Regions from separate parts of the Homo sapiens genome. Here regions 1, 2, 3, 4, 5 and 7 are each linked to region 6. Evidence: promoter capture Hi-C in 16 types of primary human blood cells and fetal thymus (Javierre and others, 2016). All regions are on one chromosome and are shown on one strand. Each heading gives the region's core, a stretch centred on a gene start or on the middle of the fragment in contact. The rest is flanking DNA. Distances are from core to core; before and after follow the strand shown.

The links. The method cuts DNA at HindIII sites, captures the fragments that hold promoters and counts their contacts. A CHiCAGO score of 5 or more calls a contact.
Region 1: a fragment that was not itself captured here is called in contact with the fragment with the promoter of FERD3L in region 6 in 2 of 17 cell types (M2 macrophages and M0 macrophages); the score reaches 6.7 in M2 macrophages.
Region 2: a fragment that was not itself captured here is called in contact with the fragment with the promoter of FERD3L in region 6 in 4 of 17 cell types (M2 macrophages, M0 macrophages, M1 macrophages and 1 more); the score reaches 6.9 in M2 macrophages.
Region 3: a fragment that was not itself captured here is called in contact with the fragment with the promoter of FERD3L in region 6 in 1 of 17 cell types (M1 macrophages); the score reaches 5.3 in M1 macrophages.
Region 4: a fragment that was not itself captured here is called in contact with the fragment with the promoter of FERD3L in region 6 in 1 of 17 cell types (M0 macrophages); the score reaches 5.7 in M0 macrophages.
Region 5: a fragment that was not itself captured here is called in contact with the fragment with the promoter of FERD3L in region 6 in 4 of 17 cell types (M0 macrophages, M1 macrophages, M2 macrophages and 1 more); the score reaches 7.8 in M0 macrophages.
Region 7: a contact is called between a fragment that was not itself captured here and the fragment with the promoter of FERD3L in region 6, in 3 of 17 cell types (M0 macrophages, M1 macrophages and M2 macrophages). The highest score is 9.1, in M0 macrophages.

What each region holds. Positions count from the first base shown.
Region 1 is chr7:19,564,309-19,567,912 of GRCh38, forward strand. No RefSeq gene overlaps it. Among named protein-coding and RNA genes, the nearest start is that of MIR3146, 140 kb to the right of the region's middle. The HindIII fragment of the contact is 5,840 bases long and covers 1-3,604 here.
Region 2 is chr7:19,514,798-19,518,443 of GRCh38, forward strand. No RefSeq gene overlaps it. Among named protein-coding and RNA genes, the nearest start is that of MIR3146, 190 kb to the right of the region's middle. The HindIII fragment of the contact is 5,074 bases long and covers 1-3,646 here.
Region 3 is chr7:19,539,626-19,543,053 of GRCh38, forward strand. No RefSeq gene overlaps it. Among named protein-coding and RNA genes, the nearest start is that of MIR3146, 160 kb to the right of the region's middle. The HindIII fragment of the contact is 1,129 bases long and covers 824-1,952 here.
Region 4 is chr7:19,477,844-19,481,318 of GRCh38, forward strand. No RefSeq gene overlaps it. Among named protein-coding and RNA genes, the nearest start is that of MIR3146, 230 kb to the right of the region's middle. The HindIII fragment of the contact is 1,148 bases long and covers 1,550-2,697 here.
Region 5 is chr7:19,496,119-19,499,526 of GRCh38, forward strand. No RefSeq gene overlaps it. Among named protein-coding and RNA genes, the nearest start is that of MIR3146, 210 kb to the right of the region's middle. The HindIII fragment of the contact is 213 bases long and covers 1,247-1,459 here.
Region 6 is chr7:19,143,953-19,147,643 of GRCh38, forward strand. FERD3L (Fer3 like bHLH transcription factor) reads right to left here and starts at 1,469. Exons shown (of 1, transcript NM_152898.2): 1 at 830-1,469. The coding sequence starts at 1,410. The coding sequence ends at 910. RefSeq lists enhancers at 202-1,401, 1,867-2,515. The HindIII fragment of the contact is 4,985 bases long and covers 1-1,604 here.
Region 7 is chr7:19,455,110-19,458,792 of GRCh38, forward strand. No RefSeq gene overlaps it. Among named protein-coding and RNA genes, the nearest start is that of MIR3146, 250 kb to the right of the region's middle. The HindIII fragment of the contact is 176 bases long and covers 1,445-1,620 here.

The sequences.
Region 1 (3,604 bases), core at 335-2,834, 420 kb after region 6:
AAATTTAATTTATTATGCTTTCCAGCTCTAAATTTTCTACTGGGTTCTTTTTTATACTTTATATTCCTCAATAGAGATCCTCTATTTGTTGTCTCATTGTTATGATATTTCCCTTTAATATTTTAGCTATTCTTTCTTTAATTATTTGAACATACTTATCAGTCCTACTTTAAAGTCTTTGTCTGCTGAATCTAATATCCATGCCCACTCGAAGTCAATTTCTTTTGATTTTTTTTCTGAACTATGCAGCACACATTTTTGCTTATTTACATGTCTGGCATTTTTTGTTTGCAATTAGTATGATAAGTAATATGTGACAGTGACTAGATTCTGTTCTGTTTTAGGGTTGTTGATTTTTAAAATAATAAATAGGCCATTTTTAGTATAGTCTTAGATTTACAAAATAATTAAGCAGGTATTACAAAGAGTTGCATACATTCAAACCCCATTCTCTACCATGACTGTCACCGTTTCCCACGTTACTGACATCTTGCAGTAGGATGGTACCTTTGTTATAATTAATGAACTAATGCTGATATATTATTATTAGCTAAAATTCATAGTTTATATTAAGGTCATTCTTTGTGCTGTAAAGTTCTACAGGGCTTGACAAATGCATAATAATATATATTAACCATTACAGTTTTATACAGGATGGTTTCACCATCCTAAAAAATACCATGTACTTCACCTACTTATCCTTCTCCTCCCTCTCTGCTGACTGCCACTGATCTAAAAATATCTGTAAAACTGATTCATTAAAAATTGCAAAATTGTAAAAGTGATCCATTAAATACTGTAAGTGAAAATGATTTCTATAGTTTTGCCTTTTCAAAAATTTCATATAATTGAAATCATATAGCATGGAGCCTTTTCAGACTGGCTTCTTTCACTTTACAGTATACATCTACATTGTTTTCATGTCTTTTCATGGTTTATAGCACATGTGTTTTGTGTTGCTTTTATTATTTTTAATTGAAACATAATTTTACATATTTATGGAGTATAGCATAACATTTTAATACATGTGTACAATGTACAATGATCAAACAAGGGTAATTAGCGTATCCAGCAACTCAAGCATGTATCCATTTTAATGTAAATATTCAAAATCCACTCTTCTAGCTATATGAAAATAAACAATAAATTGTTAATTATACTCACCCAATAGTGCTATTGAACACTGGCAGGTTTCTTTTTATTGCTCAATATTTCTTTCCATAAATGCACTACAGTTTGTCTCTTCATCCTCTATTATAGAACATCTTGGTTTCTTTAAGTTTTTGGCATTTATGAATAAAGCTGCTCTAAACATTTATGTGCAGGTTTTTGTGTGGACATAAATTTTCAAAACTGGGTAAATACCTAGGAATATGGTGGCTGGATCATATGGTAAAATTACTTTTAACTTTAAAAGAAACTACCAAACTGTCTTCCAAAATAGTTGAGCTATTTGCATTGCTGCCAGCCATGATTGAGTGTTCCTGTTGCTCAGCATTCTCACTGGCATTTGGTATCATGTTTGCTTGTTTGTTTTTAATTTTAGCAACTCTACTAGGTGTGTAATGGTATTTCATTACTGTTTTGTTTATAATTTCTTAAAGATACTTCATATGAGGTATCTTTTCCTATGCTTATATGTCATCTGTATAATTTTCTTTACTGAGCTCTATTCAGATCTTTTGCCCATTCTTAATTGTGTTGTGTGTTTTTTGTTGAGTTTTTGAGTTCTTTGTATATAATTGTATACAAATTCATTATCTGATATATTTTACAAATGATTTCTCCCAGTCTGTGACTTGTTTCCTTATTCTTTTAACAATGAGCAGGAGTTTTTAATTTTAATAACATCTAAATTATCAATTTCTTCTTCCATGATTAGTGCTTTTTGTGTTCTATCTACAAACTCATCACCAAATCTGGTTGCATGAATTTTACCCCACTTTATCTTCCACAAGTATAATAAGTTTGCATTTTGTACTTAGGTTTGAGATCCATTTGAGTTAATTTTTTTTGCAAAGGACATAAAATGCCTATCTGGCTGTTTTTTATTTTGTTTAGTTCTGTTTTGCCTATGGATGTCCAGTTGTTTCAGCACCATTTGTTGAAAAGACTATCCATTCTCTTTTGGAATTGCCATTACTCCTTTGTTAAAGATCAGTTGACTATATTTTGGTGGGTCTATTTCTGGGCTATCTATTCCATCGATCTATTTGTCCATTCTTTCACCATACCACACTGTTGTGAATATCCTAGCTTTATGGTGAACCTTGAAGTTGTTAGTGTCAGTCTTTTGACCTTGTTTATCTTTGGTATTGTGTTAGCTGTTTTGGATCTTTTCCTTTCCATGTAAACCCTAGAATAAGTTTATTAATATCTACAAAATAACTTACAGGAATTTTGACTGGGATTGTGTTGGATTTTTAATTCATTTGGGGAAGAAATGACATTTTCATGAGTCTTTATTTCCATGAACATAGACTGTCCTTATTTATTTAGATTTTGATTCTTCATTGCATTTTCTAGGTTTTCTCCCATGTATCCTGTATATAATTTGTTTGATGTGTACATAATTATTTCTTTCTCACTCTTTTCTTGGCACTAATATAAATGATACTGTGTTTTAATTATAAATTATAATTGTTCATTGCTAATATATAAGAAAGCAACTGATTTTGTATATTAACCTTTTATTCTATAACCTTGCTGTAATTACTTGTTAAGGTTTTTTGTTTCCGTTAATTGATTAGATTCATCCTGGGAAATCCGTTTCCTCTTGCGTATAGCTGCATATATCTCCACTCAACATGTCTGTAGCTTGATCCCTAGAGGATTGAGTATTTTCACATTTACCCAGTGATTTGGGCAGAAACTATGCTGAATCACCTCAAATTTGTAAGGCTTCCACTGTCTGCTAACTGGGCTGCGTAGGTAGAGGACTACATTCAAAATCACAAGTGACTTGGATTTTACTCATGACTCAAGAATCTCTTCTACTTTTCATTGGTCAGTCACAGGTCTCCAACTTAAGGCATAGCTTAGCAGTCCACCAAAGATGTGGAGAGTTTGTTATTTTATGCCTTCTATAACTCAATTTCAAGATTTCTCCCTTAAATTCTAATGTTCTGCCTCCCACCCCACATTGAGACCATAATACCTGGCCATCATAGTTGCCAATTATTGTCTCCTATATTCTCTTCCTGAATGAGTCCACCAGCATAGCTAGTAAACCTTTGTGCCGTCAATCTTGAACTGTGCGAACCATCACTCACCACTCATAAAGCTCCAGTTTTTACTGCCTGAGCTTTGGTGGTAGTGGTGGGTGGAGGTCAGTGGTATTTTGAGCATCCCTGGGTAAGAAGCCCACAGATGTTCCATTGGTTTCCTCCAATGTAGTAGCAGGTTTTTGTTTGCTTGTTTGTTTTTGACAGAGTCTCACTCTATCCTCCAGGCTGGAGTGCAGTGGTGTGATATCAGCTCACTGCAACTTCGGCCCCCCAGTTCAAGTGACTCTTACGCCTCAGCCTCCTGAGTAGCTGGGATTACACATGCCTGCCACCACACCCGGATAAATTTTTTGTATTTTTAGTAGAGACAGGGTTCC
Region 2 (3,646 bases), core at 471-2,970, 370 kb after region 6:
GAAGTTGTTGGCTTTGTGTGGCCACCCAATGCTTCTGTTACTTCGTAACTACTTAGAATTTTACATATCAGGCTGTGCAATACCTATCTTGTATGGATATCAAAGAACTAACTAAAATATGATTATATAGACACATATAATAAATTATTTTTGTTAGTGAGGTATTCCACCAAACTTTATAATTGGGAATAATAGGAATTGGTTTTGAAGGTTAAAAGGTAAGATCAGCACATAATTAATCAGAGTAGAATGTGCAAAGTAAAATTAGAAAAAGATTTAATAGTTTGCTTTTACATAATTTAATTTATCAAGTTATCTAAACAAAGAAGAGGTTTATTAGAGGGCGGTGCAGTGGTTGGAGATTTTTCAGCTAGGAATTTAAAAGGAATAGGCATATAGACTGAAGTCTGTTCTTCAAGGAAGCCCATGGTTGAGGGAAACTTTTGTAAATGCACTTTCTGCATTCTGTATCCTTGGCAAAGCTAACATATGTGTTGCAGAATGAAGGAGATTATAGACACTGAACTTTAGTATTCTGTCCTGTTTTGAGATGACTACAACAGCCTTTCTTATCAGGATCCACTAAGATTGTACTTTTAAAGTTTTTTCCTTTTAAGGATTACATGTTTATTTTCATTTAATGTTGTTTCCCATTTGATTTTTACAGGGGTTTAATTTGCTCTTCTGACACACATTAACATTGTGATTCCTAGGAAAGTTATATTTCTCATTGTAAATTTTAAAATTTCTTGCTGGGTATGACTTAGCTTTGTACTTAGCTAGACCACAAAGTTATTTATGTTAATGTTGCACATTTGATTATTCCTACGATGATTTTTCTCTTCAAAATTAATAAATGATCATTCTTCTTTGATACCACTCTCTCTTGAATTGCTGAAGTGAACCCCTAAGACGTGGATAAACTTTAGATGTGCTGATAAAGTTAAGACTTTAGACTTTGTTAAACTGACCACTTAGTCAATAAAAATTCATTGAGTGCCTGGTGTAGGTATCATACTGTTTTAAGTGCGTGGGATATATCAGAGAACAAAACAGACAAAATTTCTAACCTCAGATTCTAGCTCAGATTCTAGGGGTAATTTATGGCTATCTGTGAGGTATCTTCTTGGCCTTTGCTCTACCTAGCATGCTCAAATTTAATTAATATCTCAGTCTTACACAAGTGAGTAACATCTGTACCTAGATAAGGAGGAAGTATGTCCTTTCCATCTCATCTTAAGAAACACCTTATTAGAAGGCACTTAAAACATTGTTTCTCACAGAATTTGCAGTTTTCTCCTTCTCAAACATTTTTTCTTAGAAATTCAAATTCCCTTCTCGTACATTCTGCATCATTATCTCTTTATAATCAGAGCCATCATCTTTCTACAGGATTAAATACTCAGCTGTGAAAGCATTGTTAAATTCTTTTGCTCCATCTATTTTAGTGATAACTTGGCTTCTTCGCACAGCAGTAGTCTTCTAAATCTCATTTTGGACTTTGCTGTAAAGAGAAGAAAGCACAACTTTTAATGGAAAACAAACTAGTTCTTAGGTTTTTACACACATAGAGAACTCTTTCTAAAGCCAGGAGCTGTTAGATCCATGCACTCAGACTTGCTTGAACGTGAGGTATCTGTCTCTTAAATGGTAGCAGCAAGTAATTCTATCAAAAGTGTTCTCAGTTCAGACTTCCACATGAGCTTAAAACCCTTTATAAAGCCAGTAATTTGCTATTGTATTACACATTTTAGAACAGAGACATGTGGATTAAACATATTTTAAATAAAGTCTAAAGTTGGGTAATTGACTTCATATTTATCCATGTATTTACGAAGTAATCCCAGAAAAGTGGCAATATGGTTTTCTTTTCATGTTAGTCTCAGCTTCTTTTTCTTCCATCTGTTTCTTATGTGTTGAAGTTCAGAATTCTGTCTCTAGTGATCCTATATAATTTAAGATTTGGAAGTCACTCATAGGCCCATGACTCCCAACTCTCTAGCCTGTATCAGATGAACTAAACTAACTACTTATTGGATAGTTTCACTCAGCATTTTTGTTATATTCTTAACTGGACATTTCCATAAGCACCTGAAACTCAATATGAATAAGCCTGAATTCAGTAGCTCCTTCTAAATATGTATACTCCTATTTTGGTATCTTCCATCCCAGTTCATATTTTTACTATCCATCACATCACCAATTTGGAGTCATCCTTACTTCCCCATCATTCTCAGCCTCATGGCCAATTTCAAGTCCTACCTATTCTTTCCCCGAAGTCTTTATTCAGTCTTCTCTATCTTCTACATCCTTGCTATCATCAGCCTCGTTCTAGCCCTTATCATCTGTCACCTGGATCATTACAGTAATCTCTTAATTCAGTGCTACTTGGGTGGCTGATAGACTGTAACACGACCTCACAGTCCGCCTCCTTCTGCTTAAAATCTATCATGTTAGACCTAAAACCATAAAAACCCTATAAGAAAACCTAGGCAATACCATTCAGGACATAGGCATGGGCAAGGACTTCATGTTTAAAACACCAAAAGCAATGGCAACAAAAGCCAAAATTCATAAATGGGATCTAATTAAACTAAAGAGCTTCTGCACAGCAAAAGAAACTACCATCAGAGTGAACAGGCAGCCTACAGAATGGGAGACAATTTTTGCAATCTCCTCATCTGACAACGGGCTCATATCCAGAATCTACAAAGAACTTAAAAAAATTTACAAGAAAAAAACAACCCCATCAAAAAGTGGGCAAAGGATATGAACAGACACTTCTCAAAAGAAGACATTTATGCAACCAAGACACGTGAAAAAATGCTCATCATCACTGGCCATCAGAAATGCAAATCAAAACCACAATGAGATACCATCTCACACCAGTTAGAATGGTGATCATTAAAAAGTCAGGAAACAACAGGTGCTGGAGAGGATGTGGGGAAATAGGAACACTTTTACACTGTTGGTGGGAGTGTAAATTAGTTCAACCATTGTGGAAGACAGTGTGGCGATTCCTCAAGTATCTAGAACTAGAAATACCATTTGACCCAGCCATCCCATTACTGGGTATATACCCAAAGGATTATAAGTCATGCTGCTATGAAGACACATGCACACGTATGTTTGTTGCAGCAATATTTACAATAGCAAAGACTTGGAACTAACCTAAACGTCTATCAATGATAGACTAGATTAAGAAAATGTACCATATATACACCATGGAATACTATGCAGCCATAAAAAACCATGAGTTCGTGTCCTTTGTAGGGACATAGATGAAGCTGGAAACCATCATTCTCAGCAAACTATCTCAGGGACAGAAAAACAAACACCGTTTGTTTTCACTCATAGGTGGGAATTGAACAATGAGAACACATGGACACAGGAAGGGGAACATCACACACTGGGGCCTGTTGTGGGGTTGGGGGGAAGGGGGAGGGATAGCATTAGGAGATATACCTAATGTAAATGACGAGTTAATGGGTGCAGCACACCAACCTGGCTCATGTATACCTCTGTAACAAACCTGCACGTTATGCACATGTACCCTAGAACTTAAAGCATAATAATAATAAAAAAATCTATCAATGGTACTCAATCAGTACAGAATCAAGTCCTAGCTTTTCTTCATGTCATGAAA
Region 3 (3,428 bases), core at 138-2,637, 400 kb after region 6:
TGTAGTATCATTTGCTGGGTTGTGTTTGGGCACAAATAACATAGAGAACCAGAGGAAGCCGTGCCTTCCATAAGAACAGAGCAGCTCAAATCAGTAATATTTTTCTGCTGATGTGCAGAGGGAAACTTAGGGACAGGGGCTGGTTCAGAATGCTCTGTCCTGCTTAGGGAACAGTGTTATAGAATGGACTTGTTGAAGCTACTCGCTTAAAGGCTATGGAGATAATTGGAACATATGTACCTGAGAAGACATGGTACTCACAGTTATGGCTGAGGGCCTGCTTAAGGACCCCGAGGTAATAACGGCAAGATTTTGCTCTTTGACTCTGGATGACCTCATTAACCGTCTACTGTAAATGCTGTAAATCCATCAGCGTCTGTAGGCATTGGTACCTGCTTACTTTCTGTTCTGGGTGTGAAACCCTTGATAATCGCTTTTGACAGTACTTATTTTCACTTCTTCATCTTGAGTTGAACCTTACTTTCAAGAAATTCCTGCTTTTCAAAGAAATTCTGAATCGCCGGGATCCTTCAAAGGTGAAAGGAGTTGCCAGAAAGGGGGAGAGAAACATGAAAGCGTCTTGACAGATTTTAAGGTACAACTTTAGTGTTTCTCAGGGACCTGCTTTTCATAGAGAGGACTAAGACTGTACAACACGACAGGAATATGAGATGGGCAAGTCTCAACCTGAAAGAGCAGAGATACAGATCCTCACTGAGTTCTGTTGTCATTACTAGTTATGATGACAGGCCATGAAGCCCCAATAGGCCTAAATGTTCAGATTCTATATATTGACTGCTACTAAAAATAGAGCAGGAAAACAAGCTTTGACAGTGCCTGAGAAGACCTTCTTTGATGTTACAGGGGCATGAGACACATCCCCAACGGCAGTGCATTCTCTCCATTAAGTTACCAGGGTCCCATTGGCAGAGAACAAGAGCCCCGAGGAGTAACAGGACATGTTCCACCATCCTCAGAAGTTGCCCCAGCCTGAGGCTGGAGAGGATGGATAACTAAGGTTGGTACAATATGTTTAGAAAACTCACTAAAATGGCTCAGAGGGTATTTTTGAGGGCTCTCTCTTCCCTCAGCATCTTTTTCTTCTTTTGCTTTATGAAGTATTCTAATAATTTCAATATGAACTTTCCCTTCTGATATTTATTTTAGAATAAAGAATCTTTTAATAGGAGCTTTGTTCTTAAGAATTTGTCCGAAAGGATTTTTTTTAAAATGCTCATCACTGTAATGAACATCAAAATCTAAGATTCTCAGTCTTAAGATCAGAACTAGAGAGCTATATATGCAATGTAAAGTTATAGAGACTTTGGGTCTCAGACCAATAGCAATGGCTTGTTTCAAATTCAAAATGGAAATACATTCCCAGAATCAGATACTTCATAAAGGGATATAAAAATAGAGTAGTGGAGAGGCCACATAGCACAGGGTTAAGGTCAAAGGCTCTGGAAAAAGAGAACCAAGATTTTAATTCCAGATTCAAAATTTAAAATTGTGGAATCTTGTTCAAATTAGTTAGCCATGCTGTGTCTCAGTTACTTTCTCTAAAATGAGGATAATAGTGGTATCTAACCACAAGGCTGAAAACATTATTTGACTTCTTCACTCTGGGTTTAAGTTCTGCTCTAAGAGCCTTGGGCTCTAGACATAAATGAAGATTTTTACTTGTCATCTACAAGTCTATGTAAGAAGAGAAGGAATAAAATAAAACCCCAATTTAAGTGACAGCAATGCATATCCTATTATACTAGCTATCGAAGAAGTGCAAGAGGGTCTCCATTTTGGGGAAGATTATTTGGGCTGAACAAAAAGGGTCGAGTGTTTAATCTTCACGGTATTGTTTAGGTTTGCCATTTCCCTTTTGGAATGTCATGTTTTTGTCTATTACTTAAGGAAAAGGATTTTGCCAAACCCAGATCATTTGGAAAATAAAAGCAAGCTTCAGAAAAATATTAAGACAGAAGTTTCTCTATCTAGTTTCGAAAAGAACCACTTTTCACTTTTCATTTCTCAGAGGGCTGGGATAATGCATCTGGTGAGTGGCTGGTGAAGGAAAATGTAATGAAGTCCCAGAGACGGTGTAAAGGTAGGGGAGGGAGGAGACTTAAACGGAGAGGTTTGAAAAGAGGTGCCATATTTTTGAGACTGGAAATCTTGGGAGAGCTCTCAGAAATTGGGGTGAAAATATGTGGGAAACGGCAGTGTCACTTGGCTTAGATAATCACCATTACAGTTCTCTCTATTGGATGGACAGGTACTATATTGAAGCTGCGTTAAACAGAAGTCAAAAGACACAGCTATTTATCTTTTATATTCAGTCAAAACGAGTTATATGAATCAATGAGATTTGAGAAACTTCTGCAGTGGGCAGGATGTCATAGAGATTTACCAGTGTGAGGTTTATTCTCTTACCTTTAATTTACTGTTCAGCTAATAGAATTAAATTCTCAGAGCCTCTGGGTGTAGAGAAAGGAAGGCATGGGGGCGTTTATAATGTAGAACAGTGGTCCCCAACCTTTTTGGCACCAGGGATGAGTTTCATGGAAGACAGTTATTTTCAGAGACCCGGTTTTGGAGGTAGGGGGTGATGGTTTCAGGATGGTTCAAGTGCATTATGCTTATTGTGTACTTTATTATTATTACTATTTTTTTCTTTTTTTAAATTATACTTTAAGTTCTGGGATACATGTGCAGAATGTGCAGGTTTGTTACATAGGTATACATATGCCATGGTGGTTTGCTGCGCCCATCAACCCGTGATCTACATTAGGTATTTCTCCTAATACTATCCTTCCTCTAGACCCCCAACCCCTGACAGGCCCTGGTGTGTGATGTTCCCCTTCCTGTGTCCATGTGTTCTCGTTGTTCAACTGTCACTTATGAGTGAGAACATGTGGTGTTTGGTTTTCTGTTCCTGTGTTAGTTTGCTGAGAATGATGGTTTCCAGCTTCATCCATGTCCCTGCAAAGGACAGGAACTCATCTTTTTTTATGGCTGCATAGTATTCCATGGTGTACATGTGCCACATTTTCTTTATCCAGTCTATCATTGATGGACATTTGGGTTGCTTTGAAGCTTTTGCTATTGTGAATAGCACTGCAAGAAACATACATGTGCATGTGTCTTTATAGTAGAATGATTTATAATCCTTTGGGTATATACCCAGTAATGGGATTGCTGGGTCAAATGGTATTTCTGGTTCTAAAATCACCACATTGTCTTCCACGATGGTTGAACTAATTTACATGCCCATCAACAGTATAAAAGTGTTCCTATTTCTCCACATCCTCTCCAGCATCTATTGTTTTTTGACTTTTTAATGATGGCCATTCTAACTGGTGTGAGATGGTATCTTATTGTGGTTTTGATTTGCATTTCTCTAATGACCATTGATGATGAGCATTTTTTCATAT
Region 4 (3,475 bases), core at 874-3,373, 330 kb after region 6:
TGGTTTTTGAAAAGAAATTTGTCATCAGAATGTTGTTTTTATAAGTAATACATTGTTTTTCTCTGGATGATTTTAAGATTTTTTTTGTTCTTGGTTTTCAGAAGTTTGATTTTGATGTGCCTGGGGATGGGTTGTTTTGCTTTATCCTCTTTGTGGGTTCACTGAGCCTCTTGATTCTGGAATTTTATGTCTTTCACCAAATTTGAGCAGTTTTCAGCCTTCGTTTTATTTTATTTTATTTTTTAATTGAAACTATATGAATTCCTGTCCTTCTGGGAGTCTCATGACACAGAGATAAGATGTTTGTATTGTCCTACAGGTCCCTGAGGCTCGGCTGTATTCATTTGTTTTCAATCTTCTCTTTGTTGTTCAGACAATACCTTTTTATTGATATATATTCAAATTTACTGACGCTTTTTCTCTGCTCTGTCAGTGTCAGATTGATTGTTCCTCATTTGAGTTAATGTTTCTAGTTACGAAGAGTTATTTTGTATTGCATTTTAGAAATTTGAGGTATTATGATATGACTCAGTTTCCTATTTAAATGTCATGACAGTCAAGCTAGGGTGGTAGTCAGGGGTGTGTTCACACGCATAATCTCTGCAGATATCTAGGAGCCAGGAAGGGCTTTTAACTGCTTGTGTGAGATGATAGTAAGGCTTTACTCAAACAAACTCTGCAGATGCCTACCAGTGTCAGGAGGGGAACTGTCTCCCTACTGTCACCTTGGGATGGTAGCCAGGCTCTGCTCATACGCACAGCCTCTGCAAATGCCTACCAGACAGGAGACAAAGCTACTTCCTCACTATAGAGGTGGGGTAGAAGCCAAAGCTCTTGTCAGACAGTTGCACTGCTGCAACTGTCCCATATTTCTTGGAGGCTTTGTTCATTTCTTTTTACTCTTTTTTCTCTAAACTTCTCTTCTTGCTTCATTTCATTCATTTGATCTTCAACCACTGATACCCCTTCTTCCGCTTGATCAAATCAGCTACTGAAGCTTGTGCCTGTATCACATAGTTCTCGTGCCATGGTTTCCAGCTCCATCAGGTCATTTAAGGACTCCTCTACACTGTTTATTCTAGTTAGCCATTCATCTAATTTTTTTTTCAAGATTTTTAGCTTCTTTGCAATGGGTTCAAACATCCTTCTTTAGCTCAGAGAAGTTTGTGATTACCAGTTATCCGAAGCCTTCTTCTCTCAACTTGTTGAAGTCATTCTCCATCCAGCTTTGTTCTGTTGCTGGCAAGGAGCTGCATTCCTTTGGAGGAAAAGAGGTGCTCTGATTTTTAGGATTTTCAGCTTTTCTACTCTGGTTTCTCCCCATCTTTGTGGTTTTATCTACCTTTGGTCTTTGATGATAGGGTTTTGGTGTGCATGTCCTTTCTGTTTGTTAGTTTTCCATCTAACAGTCAGGTCCCTCAGCTTCGGGTCTGTTGGAATTTCCTGGAGGTCCACTCCAGACCCTTTTTGCCTGAGTATCACCAGCAGAGGCTGCAGGGCAGCAAATATTGCAGAATGGCAGATGTTGCTGCCTGATCCTTCCTCTGGAAGCTTTGTCTCAGAGGGGCACCTGGCTGTATGAGGTATCAGTCGGCCCCTACTGGGAGGTGTCTCTCAGTTAGGCCACTCGGGAGTCAGGGAACCAGTTGAGGGGGCAGTCTGTCCGTTCTCAGATCTCAAACTCTGTGTTGGGAGAACCACTGCTCTCTTCAAAGCTGTCAGACAGGGATGTTTGTCTGCAGAAGTTTCTGCTGCCTTTTGTTCAGCTATGCCCTGCCCCCAGAGGTGGAGTCTACAGATGCAAGCTGGCCTCCTTGAGCTGCAGTGGTCTCCACCCAGTTCTAGCTTCCTGGGAACTTTGTTTACCTACTTAAGCCTCAGCAATGGCAGACGGCCCTCCCCCAGCCTTGCTGCCGCCTTGCAGTTTGATCTCAGACTGCTGTGCTAGTAGTGAGCAAGGCTCCATGGGCATGGGACCCTCCTAGCCATGCACGGGATATAATCTCCTGGTGTGCCGTTTGCTAAGGCCCCTGGAAAAGCACAGTATTAGGGTGGGAGTGTCCCGACTTTCCAGGTACCATCTGTCACAGCTTCCCTTTGCTAGGAAAGGGAATTCCCCAACCCGTTACACTTCCTGGGTGAGGTGATGCCCCGCCCTGCAACATGGGCTGCACCCACTGTCTGACAAGCCCCAGTGACATGAACCCAGTACCTCAGTTGGAAATGCAGAAATCACCCATCTTCTGTGTCACTCACACTGGAAGCTGTCGAGTGGAGCTGTTCCTATTTGGCCATCTTGACAGTCTGGTTTTTTAAGACTCCTTATAGTAAAACATGAGAAGAGAGAAATAACATAATGATGAAATTGTGAATCAAAAAGGAATCAGAAGTTGAAGATTTGAAACATTTTCAGCCTATTTACATTGAAAAGAATGAGAGAACCTATTTGGAAGAGAACAGGAAGGGTGTGGCCAACCAACCATCAGCTAAGTTTAGTCAGCTAACAGGAATTAGGACCTATTATCCAAGATAATGGAATAATGACCCCAAAGATAGAAATCATCAGGGCTGCCCTTCCCAACACAGATTTAGAGTTCAAGAGCCCAGTGAGTGTGGGGCCACCACAGAGAGCCCCTGACAGGGCAGTGCCAGTGGAACAGCAGATGCAGTGCTGTCCCCATGACGCCAGACTGGTAAAGCTTACTGGCATGCAATTCCAGGCTGGGAGAGCCTCAGGTACGTGACCCAGGAACAGCTGCTATGGAGGTAGAGTTACCACAGAAAATGGCCATGGGGGCTCAACCCCTGCCTGGCAAAGCTGTGGAGGGAGGACCACTTCCCCAGTGAATCCAGAAGGCAGTACCCCCACCCCAGGGGGTTCTCAAGGTGAGACCTATGCCCAAGTAGGCCTGGAGGGCAGAGCGTTTAGTCATAAATCATTATTCTCAAGCCTTAAAGTTTAATGTTGTTTGACCTATTGGGTTGGGACTTGCTTTCAGTCTCTCACTTCTTTCTTCTTTGCTATTTCTTCCTTTAGGACTGGGAATGCATCCTGTGCTTTTCCACCATTGTATTTTGAAAACACATAAGTTGTTTGATTTTATATACACAGCTGGAAGGGAATTTGCCTCAAGATGAATTTCACCTTGAGTGTAACCCATACCTGATTTTCATGATGTTTAGATGTGACTTTGAACTTAGAACTTACAGTTGATGCCAGAAAGAGTTAAGAATTGTGGGGCTATTGGGATGGAATAAATGTGTTTTGTATGTGAGGACATGAACTGGGGGGGAGTCACAGGTGAAATGTTATAGACTGAATATTTGTGTGTCCCTCAAATCCACATGCTGAGATCTAACTCACAGTATATTGGCATTTGGAGGTGAGGCCTTTGGGAGATTATTAGATCATGAAGATGGAGCCCTTATGATTAGAGATAGAGCCCTTATAAAAGAGGCCCCAGAGAGCTATTTT
Region 5 (3,408 bases), core at 103-2,602, 350 kb after region 6:
AGTGACTTGTAGCATTTTAGTTTATGGCTACAACTTGAAAATCTTTATAATGTGGTGCTTTTTATTTTTACAATACAGCTTGACCTGTAATCTTCCTCTGGCATCAGTGCTGACTAATTAGATATATTGTTTATTGAAATCCAAATCGTTTATGCAACTAATAATTATTAAATGCCTACTTATTATGCCAACTAATAATTATTAGTGCCTATTATGTGTTAGAAACCGTTTTAGGTGTTGAGATGCAGCAATGTATTGCTTGATGAAGTTTCAGTTTTAATGGTTGATATCATTAAAAGTATAGAAATAAACGACATTGTTTCTATAATGGAAGATTGTAATAGTAAAGGAATGCATCGATTGCTTACAAGGATAGAGAACACAGACTAAGTCAAATCAAAAGACAAAGGGAAAGTCCCCTGGAGAAAGTGACCTTTGTGTGGAACATTCTTGCCAATTTGATTAAAAATTCAAGTATTTTATCATACATGATTTATCTCTACCCTCTGAGTTCTGTTGATGGGGTAACTATTTTTATTTTGGTTGATCACCAATAGTAGGTGCAGACAAGTACACGCATTTTTCTGTTCCACTGTGGAAAAAAGATAATCTATTTGTTCTTATTTTTATGCACCTGAGAAACAGATGATTCTAACTCTTTTAAGTTCACAACCCCTTGGGACTGAAATTTATTCAGAACAGAAGTGTCCTGCTTCTTGTCTAGAGCCAGAATAGTTATTCATAAACCATCACAATGTTCAGATTTTTAACCTGTCATTTTATAACACATTTTTGGAGAAGAAAAACTATGATTCCTAATCTTTTGAAATGACTCTTTGGGGATCTGAGAAACTGCACATTCCTGACTCAAAGGTTTATAATAGCAAACAAAATCCAAGTTCACACAGCTCACTTTGAGAGGTAAGAGTATGTTTAGAGCAAGAAGTGTCAGAATTCTCCAGGACTCTGCTGATTATTCTCAAATTGGTGAAGAACTCACTCTTTCTCATTTAGCTAATTTGTCAGCTTCTCAAAATAAATATCACATGTTCTAATTTGGCATTTAAAATTGAAATTACTTAAAAATAATAGTATATTTGATACAGAAGGTACTGACTGTGAAATTCTCATACTTTTTATCCAGCCAAGTCTAACATAATAGCTTTTTGAATATGGCACAGTAAAATGGTTGTTGTTTCGACTTTTATTATTTGTCAAGTGTGTTTTGAACATACATACCAAAGTAAGCTTAAAATCAGGCATATTTTGGAACTTGAAAAAAACTAAATGTTAAAATGCCTTGCAGCAAGAAAAACTGGGCTTGAATTATTTGAAAATCACTTAATCTCCCATTTAAACTGAATTCATTTTGTACTTAATAGTTGTAACACAAAGAATGTTTTACTCACATGAGTTAAATGTTACTTTTTACTTATTCTCTAGATACTTTCAAAATATAAGCTTAAAGAAATTCTACCATGGCATGCTTAGAAAGCTGTCATTAAATTAGTAAAATTGCACATATTTCATGATATTTTTCAGAAAAGTCTACCAAGTCAATCCAAAGCTAATTTAACATTACTATTTGTATTATCATTATCGTTAGTAACGGGGTCTACCAATATATAAAATTTGACCAAGTGTGGAATTTCTCAGTTCTAACACAGAAACCATCCTATTTTGCTTAAAGTAGCATTCTCTTTTTATGCGTGGAAGATGGAGCTTAGGGACAACATAATTTTACAGATGTGGGTGGGTAGGGTTGGCAGTGGATAGGGAGATGGGGTGCTAGGGCACAGTAGAAAAAGCCAGGAGGGGGGCACTTCTACAAGTTTCTATTCCTAATTAGAACAACTGGCATGCAACTAAGATCTAAATGAATGTGACACCTTTATGTGTGGTGTCGGGGAATAGACATAGAGCCTTAAGTAAGGGGCCACATTGAAATGGAAGCACTGGAATGGAGACAGAAACTCAGAACACAAGGTATATTATATGATCAGTTCACTCCCTAGTACATTTTAATGGGATAGAGTTTAGAAATAGTTTTAAAGGTTAAATTTTAAATTAATTACAACAAAATCTAGCAGGCTTTTAGTTTACACTATGAAGACTTTTGAGAGAGCTGATAGTATTTTCCTAATCTAGGGCTGACTAGTTTAATGTCTTAATCCTCCCTCTTTATTAGTTGCCAAATTGCTCCGTTTTCATTAATTATCAGATTGGTCAGTGGCACAGCTGAGAAAGTTTAACAAGTATTCATTTCTAGAAAAAGAGAACCCACTCTAGGGTAGAGATGCTAGCAGCAAGGCTGAGACCTAACATGACCCTGGCACAGCGAGTTTGAGGAAGAAGGCCTAGAAAGTATTCGGTGGGGCAAGGAAGTTGCTAATTTCAAAAGCACTAGCCAAATACACGTAACCGTGATGCCATCATCTTGGAAGACAAAGGCTGTGTGTCCCTTGATAACAGTAACCTGAGATGCAGTTTGTAAAGAAAATAGTAAAACTTAAAACTGGTGGTATAAACTCTCCTCTACTAGCCTAAGTTATGAGGTTCAGAGGAGAAATGGTTACATAGAGGAACCTCAATTTAAGACCATGGGTCATCTTGTAGCAACAGAAGAGAGCTCTTATATTTGTGTAGTTTGGACAGATATCTTAATCTAACTCCAATCCTTAGAGAAAGCACTGGAAAATAATTCTGGGAAATATAATTTATTAAAAAATAGTAATGAAAAAAGGATACATTCAACAACATGCTAAGATACTATGTAAGAAAACGTGAAGTCTAGCACAGCATAGACTCACGTGTGTAATCCCAGCTACTTGGGATGCGGACATGAGAGGATCGCTTGAGATCAGGAGTTCAAGACCAGCATGGGCAATGTGGCGAGACCCCCCATTTCTACAAAAATTTAAAAGATATGTATACACATGTGATGTCACATGACCATATTCCCAGCCTCTTGGGATGCTGAGGCAGGAGGATCATTTGAGCCCAGGAGTTTGAGGCTACCGTGAGCTATGATAGTAGCACTGCACTTCAGCCTGGGCTACTGAGTGAGACCCTATCTATTTTTTTTAAAGATGAAAATAATTGGCATAAGTTTCCTATAGGTAACAACTCATCAGAAAAATGTTGCCATTAAAATGGATGAAAATCATAACCTAACATACCAGTTGGTATTTAATCAGAGAATTAGAACAACTATAGATGACAGACCAAATGATTTCCTCCAGGGTTTAGAAGGTCCAGCCTTATGAAATTTGGGGAAGTACCTCTGCATCTTATGTTGATCTTGCAGTCTAGCAAGAATGACAGTTGTGAAGGAAACCAGGATATGGATGAGAGTAAGGAAAATCTGGTCTTCAATTACCTCCGTTTTTTATTTTGATCATCCATTTT
Region 6 (3,691 bases), core at 219-2,718:
ACCCGAGTGCACTCGCCCCTTACTCTGGCCTGGGGCCTGAAGAAGGCACTGGAACACGGAAGCTGATGCTGCACTTTAGATGCAAAGCGTAGATTTGCACTCTGGCTAAGGCACTGAATGAACACCACTGTGGCCCTGGGACAAGGAGCTGTGGTCCGTCTGGGATCAACTAGGTGGCGAAGGGGAGGGAGAAAGGAAGAGAGAGGGCTTGCGCGCGGGAGAGAGGAAGGGACGGGAGGGAGAGGGAATGGAAGACAGGAAGGGTGTCCCTTCTCAGAGGTCGCACTTTGTCAGCAGTTCCTCTCGACTGCTCTGCCTTCCATTTTTCCTTTCCTCAGTTCCTGGACAAGCCTCGGAGGACCAGGCAGAACCCTCTGGCTAGCAGAAAAGCTCGCACCCCCGCACCCTTGCGGCGTCTGCTTCAGACCCTCCACGCAGGCGCCCGCTGGAGCGCCTGCTGGGGATGGCGTACCACCGACCCTTCAGGCTTTTTAAAAACGTAAGAATTTCTACTTTATTATCTCTATGAAAAAAAAAATGTAAAGAAGAGAGGTTAGATTTTATAGAAGCTCCAAAGTCTGCCATTTGCGAGGAGGGTTCACTTCCCACCCACCCAGCCCACGGAAGCTCTTAGGAGCAGCCTGAACGGCCCCGACTCAGCCTCACGCTCTCTGACTTCCCCGCTCGCCCCTGACCCCGACTTCACTTAGGGCGGTCGCGTAGATATGAACTCTACAGCAGCCACTCTGCTCAGCGCATGTGGGGATCTTACAATCTCGACCCCGACCTCCAGAAGACCAGACGTTCTGTCTTGGGGCCTCCCTCCCGGCCCTTTAGCCTCACCCAGTGCCCGGTCCTGACACACCCCAGCACTACCAGACGAGGAAGGGCAGACTCTCCACACCAGGCTCAGCCGCTTTCCTTCTTCTCACAGCTCTCCAAGAGCTCGGTCATGAAGGAGATATAGACGATGGCCAGGCGGAGGGTCTCGATCCGGGACAGCCTTTTCTCGTAAGCAAACGTGGGCACCTTCCTCCGCAGCTGGTCAAAGGCCTCGTTGAGGTTGAACATCCGCTTCCTTTCGCGGATGTTGGCGGCCTGGCGCTGGGCGTAGGTGATCACCCTTTTCCTCTTGGGGCGGCCTAATAGGGAGACACCTCTTCCGCGCTCCTCTTCCTCCTCCTCTTCTCCGTCCCCCTGGTCCACTTCGCACTCCTCTTCTTCTGGGTCCCCCTCTTCAAACCGCGCCATCCTCCTGGGTCTTCCCTCTCGGAGCGCAAGGGCTGGGTCCCCCAAGGAGACCCCGGGTGCGAAGTCGCAGAGGAGAGGGCGTCTCGGGGAGGCCAGGGACAGGTCTGCGACGAAGTCCAGCACCGTAGTGTCCACGCAGCTCTCCGGATAGGCCGCCATCGCTTCGGCTTGGCCCTGCCTCTCATCGGTTTTCCGCAGGGAGGGGCGAGGTTGCTGGTGGGGATTCTTAACAGCCTTGAATCTGATGGGGCACCATCACCGAAAGGCCAGGGAACATTAAATATTTATAACCAAGCTGATAACAGGATTAGTCGCACCGATAAGGAATGCTCTGACAACGTCCCTTCTCTCGAAGCTTATGGAAGATGACAAGCTTGAGCACGCATGGAAGACTCAAAGGGACAGGGCTCCAGTTCTGAGATCCTTTTCTCTGCGCCACCCGGGACAGTTCCTTGTTGGCAACAACCCCCAGCTCTTACCTGCTGTGCTTTTTGTGTCTGTCTTCACCCCTGCAGCCAACTAATGTTCTCCAGGCTCCTTATCTCGTGTAGTTCTTTAATTTCGTGTTGGATTTTCAAAGCGAGGATGTTTTCCACCGCGATGGCTTCTCCTTGACTTCAGGGTAGGAGTCTTGAATCTTGCCACCATCTGCCAATGGATGTGGAGCAAGTGCATGTGCTTTTAATGATGTCCTGAAGAGGGGCCCTGCCTGCCTGGCATCAAGGGGAGCTGTTTGTCTGGTATCCCAGTGCAGCGGCTGCTGAAAGGCAAGACCTTCAATTAGCTTAAGTAAGCATGGCAGGGGGACCGAGAGTGCATTCCCCAGAGTCGCTGTTGGAACCGGCTTTCTTTTCTTTCCAGGGCATCGCAAACAGCTCTCCTGCCACGTTACAAACCCTGACTTCTAAAGTCTGTTTGGATGCAATCAGCGTAACAATTGAGATACTTGACTTTCCTTTCCCTACCTTTACCTCCTACTCATATAAAATAGAGGATTTTATTCCAAGAGGAAAAGTTATGATGGCAATAAAATGAGAAATTTAAGCTCAGGATATTTTCTATGCTCGGGCTTTGCTGTATACTTTTCAGTGTGGGGGACAAAGCAAACTCTCCTCACAAACAAAACCACTTCAAGCTCTTTTCAGAAATGCGATTTGCCCTTGATAAGCCAAAGAGTCAATCAGCTCACCCTCTGCTGAGGAGTCTTCGGACTTTTAAATTGCGGATCGAGTATTTGTTCCCGAACAAAGAAAAAAACCTAACACTTCCATCTGGCGTATTTTCCTCATTGATTTGTATTGTCCTACAGTAAGACTTAAGTGCAGAAACAATGATTTATTGAAATATATTTAAGGGAGTTTTTGGCTATCGTTAGATCGTTATTTTTGAGAAAAGAAAGAGATTTTAAATTTGGCATAAGAAAAATAAGAGATTACTCATTTTATATTATCTCGAGTATCCCAAATATTTTAACAAAAAGGTTCTTTTTCTTTGTTTGCCAATAACTATATTTACTTAATTATTCAGTACTGTGTAAAGATTTATTTAAAAGACCCATTGTGTCAAAGTGACAGATTAGAAGATAATTTTAAAGGTAGATTGGAAGAAATAGCCTAAAAAGATGAATGTAGAAACATCCCGGTTCAAAAGAGAACTGCCCAGGACGTCAGTCCCTATTAAGGGGGTAAGTTGTGGTTATGATGGTTCACTCAGTACATTGGACAGCTCCCAGAAACCAGAAACCGCCTATTTCTAACAGGTAATCTCAATTCATTTTCTTCTTCCTAGCCTCTATGTGTGTAATCAAAACAGTATAACCTTTAATTCTTCTTCTTCTTTTAACCCATTTGTGTCTGGTGTCTCTCGATCTTTTAATAGATTTTATCTTCTTTTGCTTGTGTTTACTCTTCATTCTCCAGTTTGAATTGTGATAACTCAGGCAGAGAATAATTGAAATTTGTGATCCTGGAAGATGTTAAAGAGAATGAGATCTTTGGTTGTTACTTAGTTGATTTTTGCTAAGCATCTTTCAAAGGGAAGGCTGAAAAATAAATAATAGGATTGTCAACAGTGGCTATGAAGCTAGTAAATGGGAGAACTGATTTTTGTTTCAAAAAAGTAGTAACATGCTTGCTAACCCTCGTTTAAATTAATATGTTATTAAATATTTGGACAAATTTCTTGTTGATTTTTAAATTATGTTAAATGCTTCTCAGTGACTTATTTTGTATTCATTTACAATCTATTTGCAAGTGGATTAAACACCTCAGTCAATTGAGAATCTAGTTTCGCAATATAATACACTGGAAAACAATGAAGGAAAACATGGTTGATATTTAAATTTAAAATTTCATAAAATGGGGGTCAGAAGCCTTCATGAGACTAAAGAGATAGTTTCATTGGACTGAACTCCTTTATGATTTTAGCCAAGGCAATGTAC
Region 7 (3,683 bases), core at 283-2,782, 310 kb after region 6:
TTGCTGGTGAACTAGTGTGATCTTTTGGGGGTGTTAAAGAATCTCGTTTTGTCACATTACCAGAAATGTTTTTCTCGTTCCTTCTCATGTGGGTAGACTGTGTCAGAGGGAAGATCTGGGACTCCAGCGCTGCTGTTGAGATTCTTTTATCCCATGGGGTGCTCTCTTTATGTGGCGCTCTCCCCTCTCCCCTAGGGACGGGGCTTCCTGAGAGCCAAATTGCAATGATTGTTATTTCTCTTTGGATCTAGCCACACAGCAGAGCTACCTGGTTCTGGGCTGGTACTGGAGAGTGTTTGCAAAGAGTCCTGTGATGTGATTCATCTTCAGGTGTCTCAGCCATGGATACCAGCACCTGCTCCAGTGGAGGTAGCAGGGGAGTGAAGTGGACTTTGTGAAGATCCTTGGTTAAATTTTTGTTAAGTGTGCTGGTTTTGTGTTGGTTGGCCTCCAGCCAGGAGGTGGGTACTTTCAAAGGTGCATCAGCTGCACTTGTATAGGGAGGATTCAAGATTGCCCTAGGGTCAAGAGATGGGCAGGGCCATAGGGCTCCCAAGGGATGATGTCTTTTGTCTTTGCCTACCGGGATGAATAGAGAAAGACCATCAGGTGGGGGCAGGGTTAGGCTTGTCTGAACTCAGACTCTCCTTGGGTGGGGCTTGGTTTGTCTGCTGCAAGGGAAGGTTTCCAGGGAGGATTATGGCTGCCTTTGCTGTGTCATACAGGTTGCCAGGGAATGGGGGAAAGCCGGTAGCCACAGGCTCACCCAGCTCCCTTGCAGTCAACAGCCAGAAAGGCTGATCTCACTCTCACTGTGCCCCCACCAACTGCACTGGGTTTATTTCTCAGGCAGCCAGTGAGCAGGGCTGAAAACTTGCCCCTGGCTGCAAGCCTCCCAGCTGAGAAAGCAAGCGGACTCACAGACTCACAATTCCTTGGCTGTCCCATGGAGGCTTCAGTAGCAATCTGCCTCCTTCAAAGGGTCTGTGGATTCTCTTGGCTTTCCTGGTATGTTCCTGTGGTAGCTCTTAGAGCAAAAGTTCACAATATGAGTCTCCACGCACTATTCTGTCCGTCCAAATGGGAGCTGCAAGTTAGTCCTACCTCCTGTTTGCCATTTTCCCTCTTGCTAACTTTAAAATTATTTCTTTCACCTTGACTTTAGACATTCTGAATATAATATGCTATAGTAAAGGCCTTTTAGCAATGTATTTGCCTGGGGATTACTGGGCCTTCTCTATTTGGATGTCTAACTCCCTTGATAGACATGAAATCTATTATAGAATAATTTATAAATTTCGTTGCTTTATGTATTCCCAGGTGTCCCAAAGGCTTTGTTCATCCTTTTTTATTTTTTCTTTAGTTTTGTCTCACTGGCTTGTTTCAAAATACCTGTCTTCAAGTTCTCACATTCTTTCTTCTGCTTGCTCTAGCAGATTACTGAAGCTTTAGAATGTGTTTTGAATTTTCTTCAATGAATTTTTTAGCTCCTGAATTTCTGCTTGTTGATTTGTTTATTTATTTATGTATCTATCTCCTTTCTAAATTTCTCCTTCATATCTTGATCTGATTTTCTGATTTCATTTGTGTTGATTTTCAAATTTCCCTTGCATCTCATTAAGCTTCATTAAAACCAATATTTTGAATTATTTATCTGGCAAATCAGGGAATTCTTTTTGATTAAGATCTGTTGCTGGACAATTGTTTTGGTCCTTTGGTGTCATATTTCCCTACTTTTTCATGTTTCCTGTGTCCTGATGATATTTGTGTACCTGGTGTAGCAGTCACTTGTTCCAAAATTTTGAAATTGCTTTTGTAGGCGAGTTTTTTTCCTGAGGATCATGTATCCTGTTTATTGAATTTAATACTTTGGCTTTGATTTTGGGTCCCTAGGGTAGTTTTTTCTTTGTATGTCATCTTTGGCAGTACACAGGGTCAGTTGTTTCTGTGATTTCCTGAGTGACTTAGGGTACAGTTGTTAGTTGAGGTTGTGGTGAAGTTTTGCTGGGGACTTAGGACACCAACTGAGCCCAGTCTTCAGGCCCCAGTGGTGGCAGAAGTAGGGTGAGCATGCCTGTTCTTAGGCCCCAGAGCAGCTTTCACTGCCCCTGGTGTGAGTGGGTCCTGGAGAGCTGATTCCTGGGCCTCCAGTTGGCCGGCTTAGAAGCTAGTAATGGAAATGGTGGACCAGGTATGTAGGTAGCTTCTCAGGCCACTGGGTAGCTGGCGTGGTGTGGGCGATGGTAGTAGTGGTGGTGGAGCAACTCCTGGGACCCAAGCAGTCTGTGTTGCTGTTGTTGGAAGCTCTGATGGGTTGGGTGGGCTAGTTCCCAGTCCCACAGCTGCCCATAGCAGGGTGAAGGTTATTGTACTAAGCATGCTTAAGAGAGCCTGTTCTCCCCTGTTTGTCCCCTGACTAGATACCATTTACAGCTACATTGACTCAAACTGCCTGCAGGTGGGGCACACCCCAACCTTAAACTCTCAAAATGGTGCCAGCTGGGGCTTGTGACCACATAAGGTGGGCCCATGTCAGGTGAGCAGCATGGGCAGGAAACTGTGGGGAGTGCAGTATGCTCTAGTCTTGTTCTCATGGCAGCTCATAACAAGGCATTAGATATTGTCCTAGATATGCATAGGAGAACCAGGTTTCCCTGTCCTTGATGCTGTGGTGGCTACAGCCATGTCAACTTGAACTTGGCCTGAGGTCTGGACACAGCATGGTGTTGAAATCTCAAAATGGCACATTGACCCTACAACCACGGAGGGCAAAGCACCTCCCAGGCAGACAGTGTGGGCAAGAAGCTGTGTGGACTGCAGTCTGCTCACATCTCAGTATCAACAGCAGCTCATTGGAGAGCAGTGGGTGTTTTCCTAGATGTGCATAGGGTAGCCTGGTTTCCCTGATGCTCCATGGCTCAATGGTGGCTGCAGCCATGTCAGTCTGATCTCAGTCCAAGGGTGGGGTGCAGCCCACAGGTAAACTCTCAAAATGGCACCTTGGGCCAAGGATCAGAGGGAGCATGGCACCTTTAAAGCAAGTAGTATAGGAAGAAGCTGTGGAGGGTGTGGTCCACTCGCATCTCAGTCTCACAGGAGCCCATTGCAGAGTAATGGGTCTTGTCCTATATATGCACAGAATAATCTTGATTCCCTTTTCCTCCTTGGCTGGGCAGCTGCTGCAGCCAAATCAGCCAGATCTCAGGCAGAGGGTGGGGTACAGCTCAGCATTAAACTCTCAAAATAGTGCCTTTGGCTTGGAAACTGAGAGGGTGGGATCCCTCTCAGGCAAGCAGCATGAGCAAGAAGCTGTGGGCAGTACAGTCTGCTCCTGTCTCAGTCTTGGCAGCCCACAGCAGGGTGGCAGGGACCCCCACAGGGGTACAGGAGCATCCCATCTCCCTTCTCCCTTCTTGGAGCAGCGCAGTGGCTACAGCCGTATCTGTAGGTCCCTGGTATCTACAATCTCAAAATGGCTCCTAGCTGAAGCTTCTCCAGGCTCAGATGTCTTGTGGGATCCTGTGTGGGTTCCCTTTCTGGAGCGACGTTTCTGTGCAATCATTAGGCAGCACTTCAAGTCAGGCCTGGGGCCCTAGTGGGTAAAGGATTTCTTCCACAGCTAAGATGGTAAAAGCCTGTCAGGTAGCCCTTGGGGTTTTTCTCTTACTGTTTTCCCCACCCAG